3 separate regions of the Homo sapiens genome follow, and all the other regions are linked to region 3. The links are contacts of gene promoters, found by promoter capture Hi-C in human tissues and cell types (Jung and others, 2019). All regions are on one chromosome and are shown on one strand. The core of a region is centred on a gene start or on the middle of the fragment in contact, and the rest is flanking DNA. Distances in the headings are between cores, read along the strand shown. Region 1 overlaps IQGAP2 (IQ motif containing GTPase activating protein 2). Region 2 overlaps IQGAP2 (IQ motif containing GTPase activating protein 2). Region 3 holds the start of F2RL1 (F2R like trypsin receptor 1).

Region 1 (2,700 bases), core at 41-2,540, 190 kb before region 3:
TTCCCTTGTAGTCTGCCGCATAGCTAGAGGTGATTGTGGAAGCAGGCACCAACACTTCCCCAGAGGTCTCCTTTAGCCCAGATGTTGCACGATGAAATAACAGATAGTTTATCTCATTTTCAGAGCCCTTTCCACATGCATTATCTCACGTTAACCTCTGAGGAAAATAGTGTTAGAAGCCTGCCAGAGGAACCAGTGACTATTTCCTCTCCTTCCTGCCCCCATCCATCTTAAGTTTTAAATGACGGAGTCGGTGCCAGATCCATTACCTTTCATTCATCACAGTCTTGACTTAGGATTTAGAACACGACACTTATTCCTACACATAGGTAAAATGTTCCCATTTGTTAAATGTCACATGTTTCCTGAAAATATCTCTGCTGATAATTATTTACTTGCCATCTCAGAAAAGATTTTATAAAACACAATTGCTACCTGGAAGTTCCACTTAATATCTGTCAGGGCTGCTTTTGTAGCAGGACCATCAGAATCAACCCAAAGTTAAATAGGAATATTTACCTATAATAGGAATAATGCAATACATTTTCATTGCTGCTGTTGCTTCCTTTCTAAAGCTATCTTTAACTACTTAGTCTTTGCTCCCCCTGCAACTTGACACCTTTACCATAGGTTAACCCTTTCTCACCTATGTCTGGATCATGTGTCTGCAGTATATATTGCCCTGATCACATTGTATTATAATTCTTTTTCTTTTTTTTCTTCTTTTCTTTTTTTTTTTTTTTTTTTGTGAGACAGAGTCTCACTCTGTCCCAAGGCTGGAGTTCAGTGGCCTGACCTTGGCTTACTGCAACCTCCACCCACCAGGTTCAAGCAATCCTCCCGCCTTCCTCCCAAGTAGCTGGGACTACAGGCATGCACCACCACTCCTGGCTAATTTTTGTATTTTTAGTAGAGATGAGGTTTCACCATGTTGGCCAGGCTGGTCTCGAACTCCTGACCTCAAGTGGTCCACCACCCTCAGCCTCTCAAAGTGCTGGGATTACAGGTGTAAGCCACCATGCCCAGCTATATGTCTTGACACATCTGTCTCTTACACTACATTGTTAGGTCCTTGAGGACAATCACCATGTTGTTGTTTGTTTTTAATTTTTGTCTCTGTGTCTGATAAATATCGACGATCCCTGTGTTTCTCTCAAATTAAAAATATCCCATGGTACCCTGGGACACCTTGACACTTAGTTTGGGAACCACAATAATTGATTGAGGGAGAGAGTGTTTGACTAGGGTAGCCCGGGAAGACTTTTTGGAGTAGGTAGCATTTGAGTTGAGACCTGAATGGTAAGAAAAAGCCAACAGCCACACAGTGAGGGTAGAGTATTGTGGTCTGAAAGAGACTCGTGTGAAGGTCTAGAACAGGAAGGGGGAAGTAAACGGGTGTGAGGTGCAGCCAGAGAGGCAGTAGGCAGGGCCATGCCGTTGGAGCCCCGCCATCCCTGAGAAGGCACCCTGTGTTTCCTTCTAACTGCCGGGGGAAGCCTTTGGGGAAGCTTTAAGTAGAGGAGTGGTGCACTGAGCTATCTATTTTGAAGGGATCCTCTGGGCCCTCTGTAGAGGGCCACTGTGGTGAGGGCAAGCTTAGATGCAGCAGAAGCTGCTAGGGGGCTGATGCAGCTGTCCAGTTGGGAGATGATGGGGGGCTGGACTAAAGAGTGGTGGGGAAGAAGGAGGAAGTGGTCGGGTTTGGGGTCTGCTTCATTAGGAGTGTGTACAGTATATGGCAGAGCTGGATAGTTGCTGATTAAGAATTTGTGGGAATTATGATTAAATGGCTCCTCAAAAGCAGTTATTAATTCTGTTTCCTCATCATTCACTCTTCTTTCTTTTTATTCTGTGACATTGTCCCCAGGACTCTGAGAGTGTTTCCAAAGTGCTTTGGCTGGATGAGATACAGCAAGCCGTCGATGATGCCAACGTGGACAAGGACAGAGCAAAACAATGTAAGCCCTCACCTCCTTTGCTCTTGAAACTTGCCTTTTTGGATTTGGTTATGTGCCTGAAGTCATGTGATTTTTAATTTCTGAAAGATTTGGATTCTTACCAAGTTTTAGTTCTTGGACACATAATTATACCGAAATTAGTTGGTTGCCCTATTGTCAGTGATTTGACTCTATCTCCAACAAAATGTAACAATGTTGCTGAACAAAATCCAGAAGGTAAAAAATAGTTTTTAAGCTCTCAAATTGTATAATTGAATAAAATTCTTTTTTTCTCTTGATTTTTAGAGAACTAGACCATTTCTACTTAATAAATGCCTTTTTCTCCTTTCCATGGCCTTTATAGTTACCAGGGTTTTCCACAGAAACAGAACCAATAGGAGACCTATGGAGTTGGCTAGCTGATCATGGTGCAACTAGAAGTGAAATAGACTGGCAGTCTACTCAATTCTTACTTAATCTGTACAACTGGATGAGTTTTGGGTCAAGCAAACAGAAGTCTACCTTGAATCATAAAAATAGTCATGGACCCTCAATCAGTTCCCAGAATGGGGCCAGTTTACAAACCCAGAACCCCTCAAATGAAGGGAAGGCCAGGCCCCTTGAGGAAAAACTCAGCTACACTACCAAAAATTTATACTGTTAGTCTTTCTTCCACCCCTCCCCCAAAGGGACCTATGGCCTTTTACCAGGGTGACTGTACTTAGGAGAAAGTACATAATCAGACTTTTGGGAATTAGTGGAC
Region 2 (2,700 bases), core at 135-2,634, 240 kb before region 3:
ACAACTGGGACATTCATGTTAAGGAGCTTATAAACAAATGGTATGCTAAGTTCCTTTCTGGTGATATCATGGTTCTCCTAAAGGAGCTATCTAGAGCTGCACTTAGACTTACATGTGTATTTGCCATGGTTTTAACAATGGCTTGAATAGCTTGGTAAACAAAGAAAAAACAACTTTTTGTTTATTATTACCAATTGTATACAAATATTGATGTGATATTTTCCAGGACTGTGTTTTTCAGTTATTCATCATAGACATCTCCATTACTTTTACTCATCCTGGAGGGGATTCCTGTTGGGTCATGTCATTCACCAGATCTGATCTTAAGTAGGATATTTTATCTTCAAAAGCAATATTTATTTAGTAAATAGCATTCTCCTCGCTTTTCTTTGTTCTAAATTATTGTATAGCTGCCTCTCACTATGGAGCCGAGAAGTCCCAAGTGTATCTTGCAGCTTTTTCCACCAAAACTTGTTCCTGCTATGATTTAAAATGCAGTCAGTCACTCAAAGGAGGCTGATATTCTGCTTTGTTGTGCAAGACACATTTGAAAGCTGAGGAACAATCCTCTAATAAATACAGTGGGTTTGATAAATACTCTTGCTGCATAGTTAGAAATGATGATGGAAATGAACTAACATGTCTTCAGCTTTTATATCCTGGCTGCAAATACAGCACTGCTGCTGTATTTGAGAGTTGTTATTACCTGGTAGAGTAATTAGGCAGGTCAGAGATTCTGATTATAACTCAGAAGCCAGCAAGGAAGTTTCCCTAGGAAGTTAAGCTTGCCAGGCGCTGCCTTCTTCCTGCCCCAGCCTGTGGGCCTGACTTGATCTAAAAAGTTAGCTCTTAGCCCTGACCAAACTTGTCTCCTATTCCCTGTCATCTTGATTTGGGCTTAACAACCTAACTTCTGGGTGCTTATGCTTGCTTCCTGTTTGTATCTGTGTTCCCCTTTGCTGCCTGCCCCTCACCTTATCATTTTATTTCTGATCCCAGTCTCGTGTCCTACCACTCACCAATCCCTGTGTCAGTTTAGCTTGGTGTTCTCAAGCCAGACTCCATGAACATTACCACAGCAGCAAAGGGAGGAAATTCTCAAGCTTCACCTAATGTAGACAGACTCACCTTAGCGGTGGATGGCATCTTTTTTTTTTTTGAGATGGAGTCTCACTCTGTCACCAGGCTAGAGTGCAGTGGTGCAATCTCAGCTCACTGCAACCTCCACCTTCCGGGTTCAGGTGATTCTCCTGCCTCAGCCTCCTGAGTAGCTGGGACTACAGGCACGCACTACTATGCCCAGCTAATTTTTTGTATTTTTAGTAGAGACGGGGTTTCACCATGTTGGCCAGGATGGTCTTGATCTCTTGACCTCGTGATCTGCCTGCCTCAGCTTCCCAGTGTGCTGGGATTACAGGCATCAGCCACCACGCCCGGCCACATCATTCTTTTTCTAAAGAAATGTTTGTCTTTTTCTCATTTTTTCAAAAGTAATGTATGCTCATTGTGGAAAAAATTGGAAAATCCAGGAAGAATGTTAAAGAAAAAGCTAAAATACCCACTATCTCAACACCAAGTAAAAACCACTGTAACTATTTTGATATCTTTGAACTTAAAGTGTATACTGCGTATGGCATGTTTTACTTTTGTGGCTTCTTTTGGAATGTTATAAAGCCTCTGCCTTGAAAAGGAACCAGTTTAAGAGTGAGAGCCTTACTAACTAGTTACTATACTAATTTTTAAAAAATATCTGGAGGCCTTTTACGTAAGGGTAAGAACACTTTTTTGACATGTTGTTTAGTGCCCACCTTATTAAAGATGTATAATAAATGATATTAAACAACTGTTACTTGTTTAAACAGTCATAAAAGTGAGTTCCTTGAAAGAGTTGGAATAATTTAGTAGAAATGATGTTTTGAGTACTTCAGATACCTTAAAGAGCAGGTGAAATGCCCAGGTACGTTATTACAAACTTACTACACTGGAACCTATTCTGTAAGACCCATACTACAAGTTTCACTCATTTTGTTTATTATTTATAACTAGTTTTGAGTTGTCCTTGGCTATTATATTATTTTGATACCTACCCAGAATTGACATAATCTTCGTGGCACCAGAAACAAAAGAATACCCTTTCAAACCTGCCATGATTACAGATCTGGGTTTCGGATGGATCACTTGTGAGTCAGAACATGGCGCAACTTTGGGTTCTTCTCCCATGGCGAGTCAGACCCTGGCCACAGGCATCAGGCTAAACTTTCTTTGTTTAAAAAAAAAAAAAAAAAATCAGACCGCATTTAAGTACCCGGCTTTCAGGTAGGTCTTTATTTACAATCTGGTCCCCACCCCTGCCCCCCTTCCCCATTACCCTGAAATAATTTACTTTCTTAAGTCTCACTTGACCAGCATTGTATAATCCATTGTCCTGTCATAATGATGTATTGGCCTGATCCATTAACATTATTAAAAGCTTATGTATGCCTTTTAAATATTTTTTTTTTAATTAGTTGGGCTTTCTAGAGGTTTTCATCCCCTGGGAGACAAGGGATTGACTGTACCCAGTGATCCTTAGGCTTTTGGGCTGATTTATCATCTCAGATCATGTTTCTAGTCCTGCCTCCACTTAGTTAGTGGATGTGACCACCAGTGCTGGACCCTCTTTCTACCCGGTGTTTCTGTCACCACCTATGCTCCTTGGTT
Region 3 (2,700 bases), core at 38-2,537:
AATCCTTTAAATATTTGAAAATACCTATGTCTCTCTTCTGTGCTCTTCTGGTACCAATAGTTTAAATGGGTAACAGTAGACTTTGTTTTATTCAATCTTTTAAAAAGCAAATAAAAAGTAAGACATGCTGGGTGCGGTGGCTCACGCCTGTAATCGCAGCACTTTGGGAGGCGGAGGTGGGCTGATCACGAGGTCAGGAGTTCGAGACTAGCCAGACCAACATGGTGAAACCCCGCCTCTACTAAAAATACAAAAATTAGCCAGATGTGGTGCACGCCTGTAACTCCAGCTACTCGGGAGGCTGCGGCCAGAGAATTGCTTGAACCCAGGAGACAAAGTTTGCAGTGAGCCGAGATCACGCCACTGCACTCCAGCCTGGGAGACAGAGCGAGACTCCGTCTCAAAAACAAAAAGTAAGACATTACCAATATGATGCCAACCCTCATGCACTCATCCCCAACCCCACACTTCTCTTCTCCCACCCCTTCTATCTGCTTTTGTATTTATTTAGCCTATGGGATCCCAATGCAGAGGAGCCCTGGTGGACGCATTTATAGTGCAGCGATGAATAGAAGACAGTGATAGTCTTATACTGGAGTTGAAATGTGATAAACATTTATACACTGTGTTTATAAGTCGTGTAACTCTGGCCAATTTATCTGGTCTTTCTAAGCTCACTTTCCTCGTCTGTAAAATGGGAAGAATAATCATACTTATTGCGCTGGTTGTTATGGGGATTAAGCAAGATAATTCTCTAAAGCTTTGGCACTTGGCGCTGAAAGTAGCCATTCCATGTCTTCTTTCCCGCCCCGCCTCTTGTGCTCCCCACCGCTTTCGTGATGTCCGCAGTTGCCCACCTGCCTCTACAATAAAAAACGCATCCCTCCTCCTGCAGGGTCCACCGCACCGGGAAGCCCTGTCTGTATCAGTTACCAACCACAATTGCAGTGAGTACGAATCGTGGCTTTCCCACAGTCAGGAAAGGCAAGGGAGACCGACGACCCGCTTCTCTAGGAGTAAGTAAAGATTAAAGGTAGTTCGCGGTATAGCCTAGGCAGGGATTAACCCGTGGTCCCAGCGCTCCTGCTATTTGCATTCCAAAGCAGACACCTCATGCGCTCAACCCCGCCCGCAGGCGGCTCCCGCAGTCTAAGGGACCTGGCGCGAGTCCGGGAAGCGGAGGGCGCAGCTGCGCAGGGAAGGGGGCCGGGGGCGGGACCAGGGCGCGCGTTCCGGTCCCGGGGCGTGGCCTCCCGCAGGTGAGTACGCTGCTCCTTCGGTTTCCCTGAAACCTAACCCGCCCTGGGGAGGCGCGCAGCAGAGGCTCCGATTCGGGGCAGGTGAGAGGCTGACTTTCTCTCGGTGCGTCCAGTGGAGCTCTGAGTTTCGAATCGGCGGCGGCGGATTCCCCGCGCGCCCGGCGTCGGGGCTTCCAGGAGGATGCGGAGCCCCAGCGCGGCGTGGCTGCTGGGGGCCGCCATCCTGCTAGCAGCCTCTCTCTCCTGCAGTGGCACCATCCAAGGTGAGAAACCTGGCCAAGGAGGGCTCTTATCTCTGAGGAGCTGGGGTCCTGGGCACGCTGGGCAGACGGTGGGATCCGGGCAGGTGTGCGAAGGCTGTTCTGCTGCCGGCACCCATCTCTACGAATCCCTTAGCCTCCCCTTGGTGGCTTTGATGTGAGGTCTCTGCGCCAAGGAGGCACCCAGGTGGGACATGCGGGAGCAGCTGAAGTCAGCGGAGCCGGGCAGAGGCAGAGATTTCCCCAAAGACCCCACTTCCCGTAGAGGCTGTCATGCTGGGCACCTCCAGGCCCCAGCGTGGGTTCGGGGAAAGGGAGGGAAGGAAGGAGTAGCTGTGTCTAAAGGGTACGCAGAGGACCTAGTCCCCTCCCCGGGCTTGGTTGCTTTGTAAACACTAAGTCATTAAGAGCTTTTTGCCAACTCCGGAGACTTCCTCCGCTGGCCCCGCGGGGCCGGTGGGGTTAGCGAGCTGATTGCGCAGGGCAGGGCGGAGTGGGTGGGAACCCGCGGCCCGGGAGCCTTCTAGGTTGTTTTTTGCGTCCCTCTCCAACTGCTGGAAGCCTTTCTTCGGGTTCTGGCCCCTGCGTTCGAGACCCACCCGGGTCCCGCTGCTCCTGGCACCCACAGTGGAAGGCCCGGGGTATGAAAGTCAGGGCCGGTCCCTGATGGGTTCTGGTGGTAATGAGCGCTCAGGCCCGTTGGGCGCCACGAGGATTTACGAGCGGAACTTTTTGGACCCTGCCTTATATTTGACCAGTTGACCCTCTGGGCCTGGGGTTCCGGGACTTTCCTAGTGTGCCACCCGGAGCGGCCACTGGCTGCCACCCAGGTCTGCAGGCCAGAGGCTGGCTGGCCTGGGAACAGAGCAGCACTTGCGCCCGGCCGTCGCGTTCCTTGGATGTGCTGCTCCGGGTGTGCTCGAACTTGTATTGCTGGGAGTGTGTTCTTCCGGGCCCAGCAGGCCTCGCTGTGGCCGTGGGGGATGTTTGACCTGCGATCGCGCCACTGTGATCCTAACCGAGGCCCCTCTGTTTGGGGCAGCCTGGGTAGCAAAGGGAGCTTTTAATTTCCCTCAGAAATGCGCATTTCTCACTTTTATCCTCCTCTTCATAAAGACGAAGTAAAAGAGCAAGTCACAGTGGGTTGGAATTAGATGGAAGAATGTGATTCTTTTCCCTCT

Evidence for each region. Contacts are between HindIII fragments. The study calls those that stand out against the background at their distance.
Region 1: a fragment that was not itself captured here is called in contact with the fragment with the promoter of F2RL1 in region 3 in 1 of the 25 tissues and cell types used here (IMR-90 fibroblasts).
Region 2: a fragment that was not itself captured here is called in contact with the fragment with the promoter of F2RL1 in region 3 in 1 of the 25 tissues and cell types used here (mesenchymal stem cells).

The regions. Positions count from the first base shown.
Region 1 is chr5:76,625,543-76,628,242 of GRCh38, forward strand. It overlaps IQGAP2 (IQ motif containing GTPase activating protein 2), which reads left to right. Exons shown (of 36, transcript NM_006633.5): 14 at 1,868-1,958. Among named protein-coding and RNA genes, the nearest start is that of F2RL2, 3.5 kb to the left of the region's middle. The HindIII fragment of the contact is 4,209 bases long and covers 1-2,700 here.
Region 2 is chr5:76,577,173-76,579,872 of GRCh38, forward strand. The region is part of intron 5 of IQGAP2 (IQ motif containing GTPase activating protein 2); the gene reads left to right. Among named protein-coding and RNA genes, the nearest start is that of F2RL2, 45 kb to the right of the region's middle. The HindIII fragment of the contact is 4,937 bases long and covers 1-2,700 here.
Region 3 is chr5:76,817,743-76,820,442 of GRCh38, forward strand. F2RL1 (F2R like trypsin receptor 1) reads left to right here and starts at 1,288. Exons shown (of 2, transcript NM_005242.6): 1 at 1,288-1,522. The coding sequence starts at 1,441. RefSeq lists enhancers at 1,004-1,621, 1,622-2,239 and a silencer at 1,022-1,316. The HindIII fragment of the contact is 2,769 bases long and covers 225-2,700 here.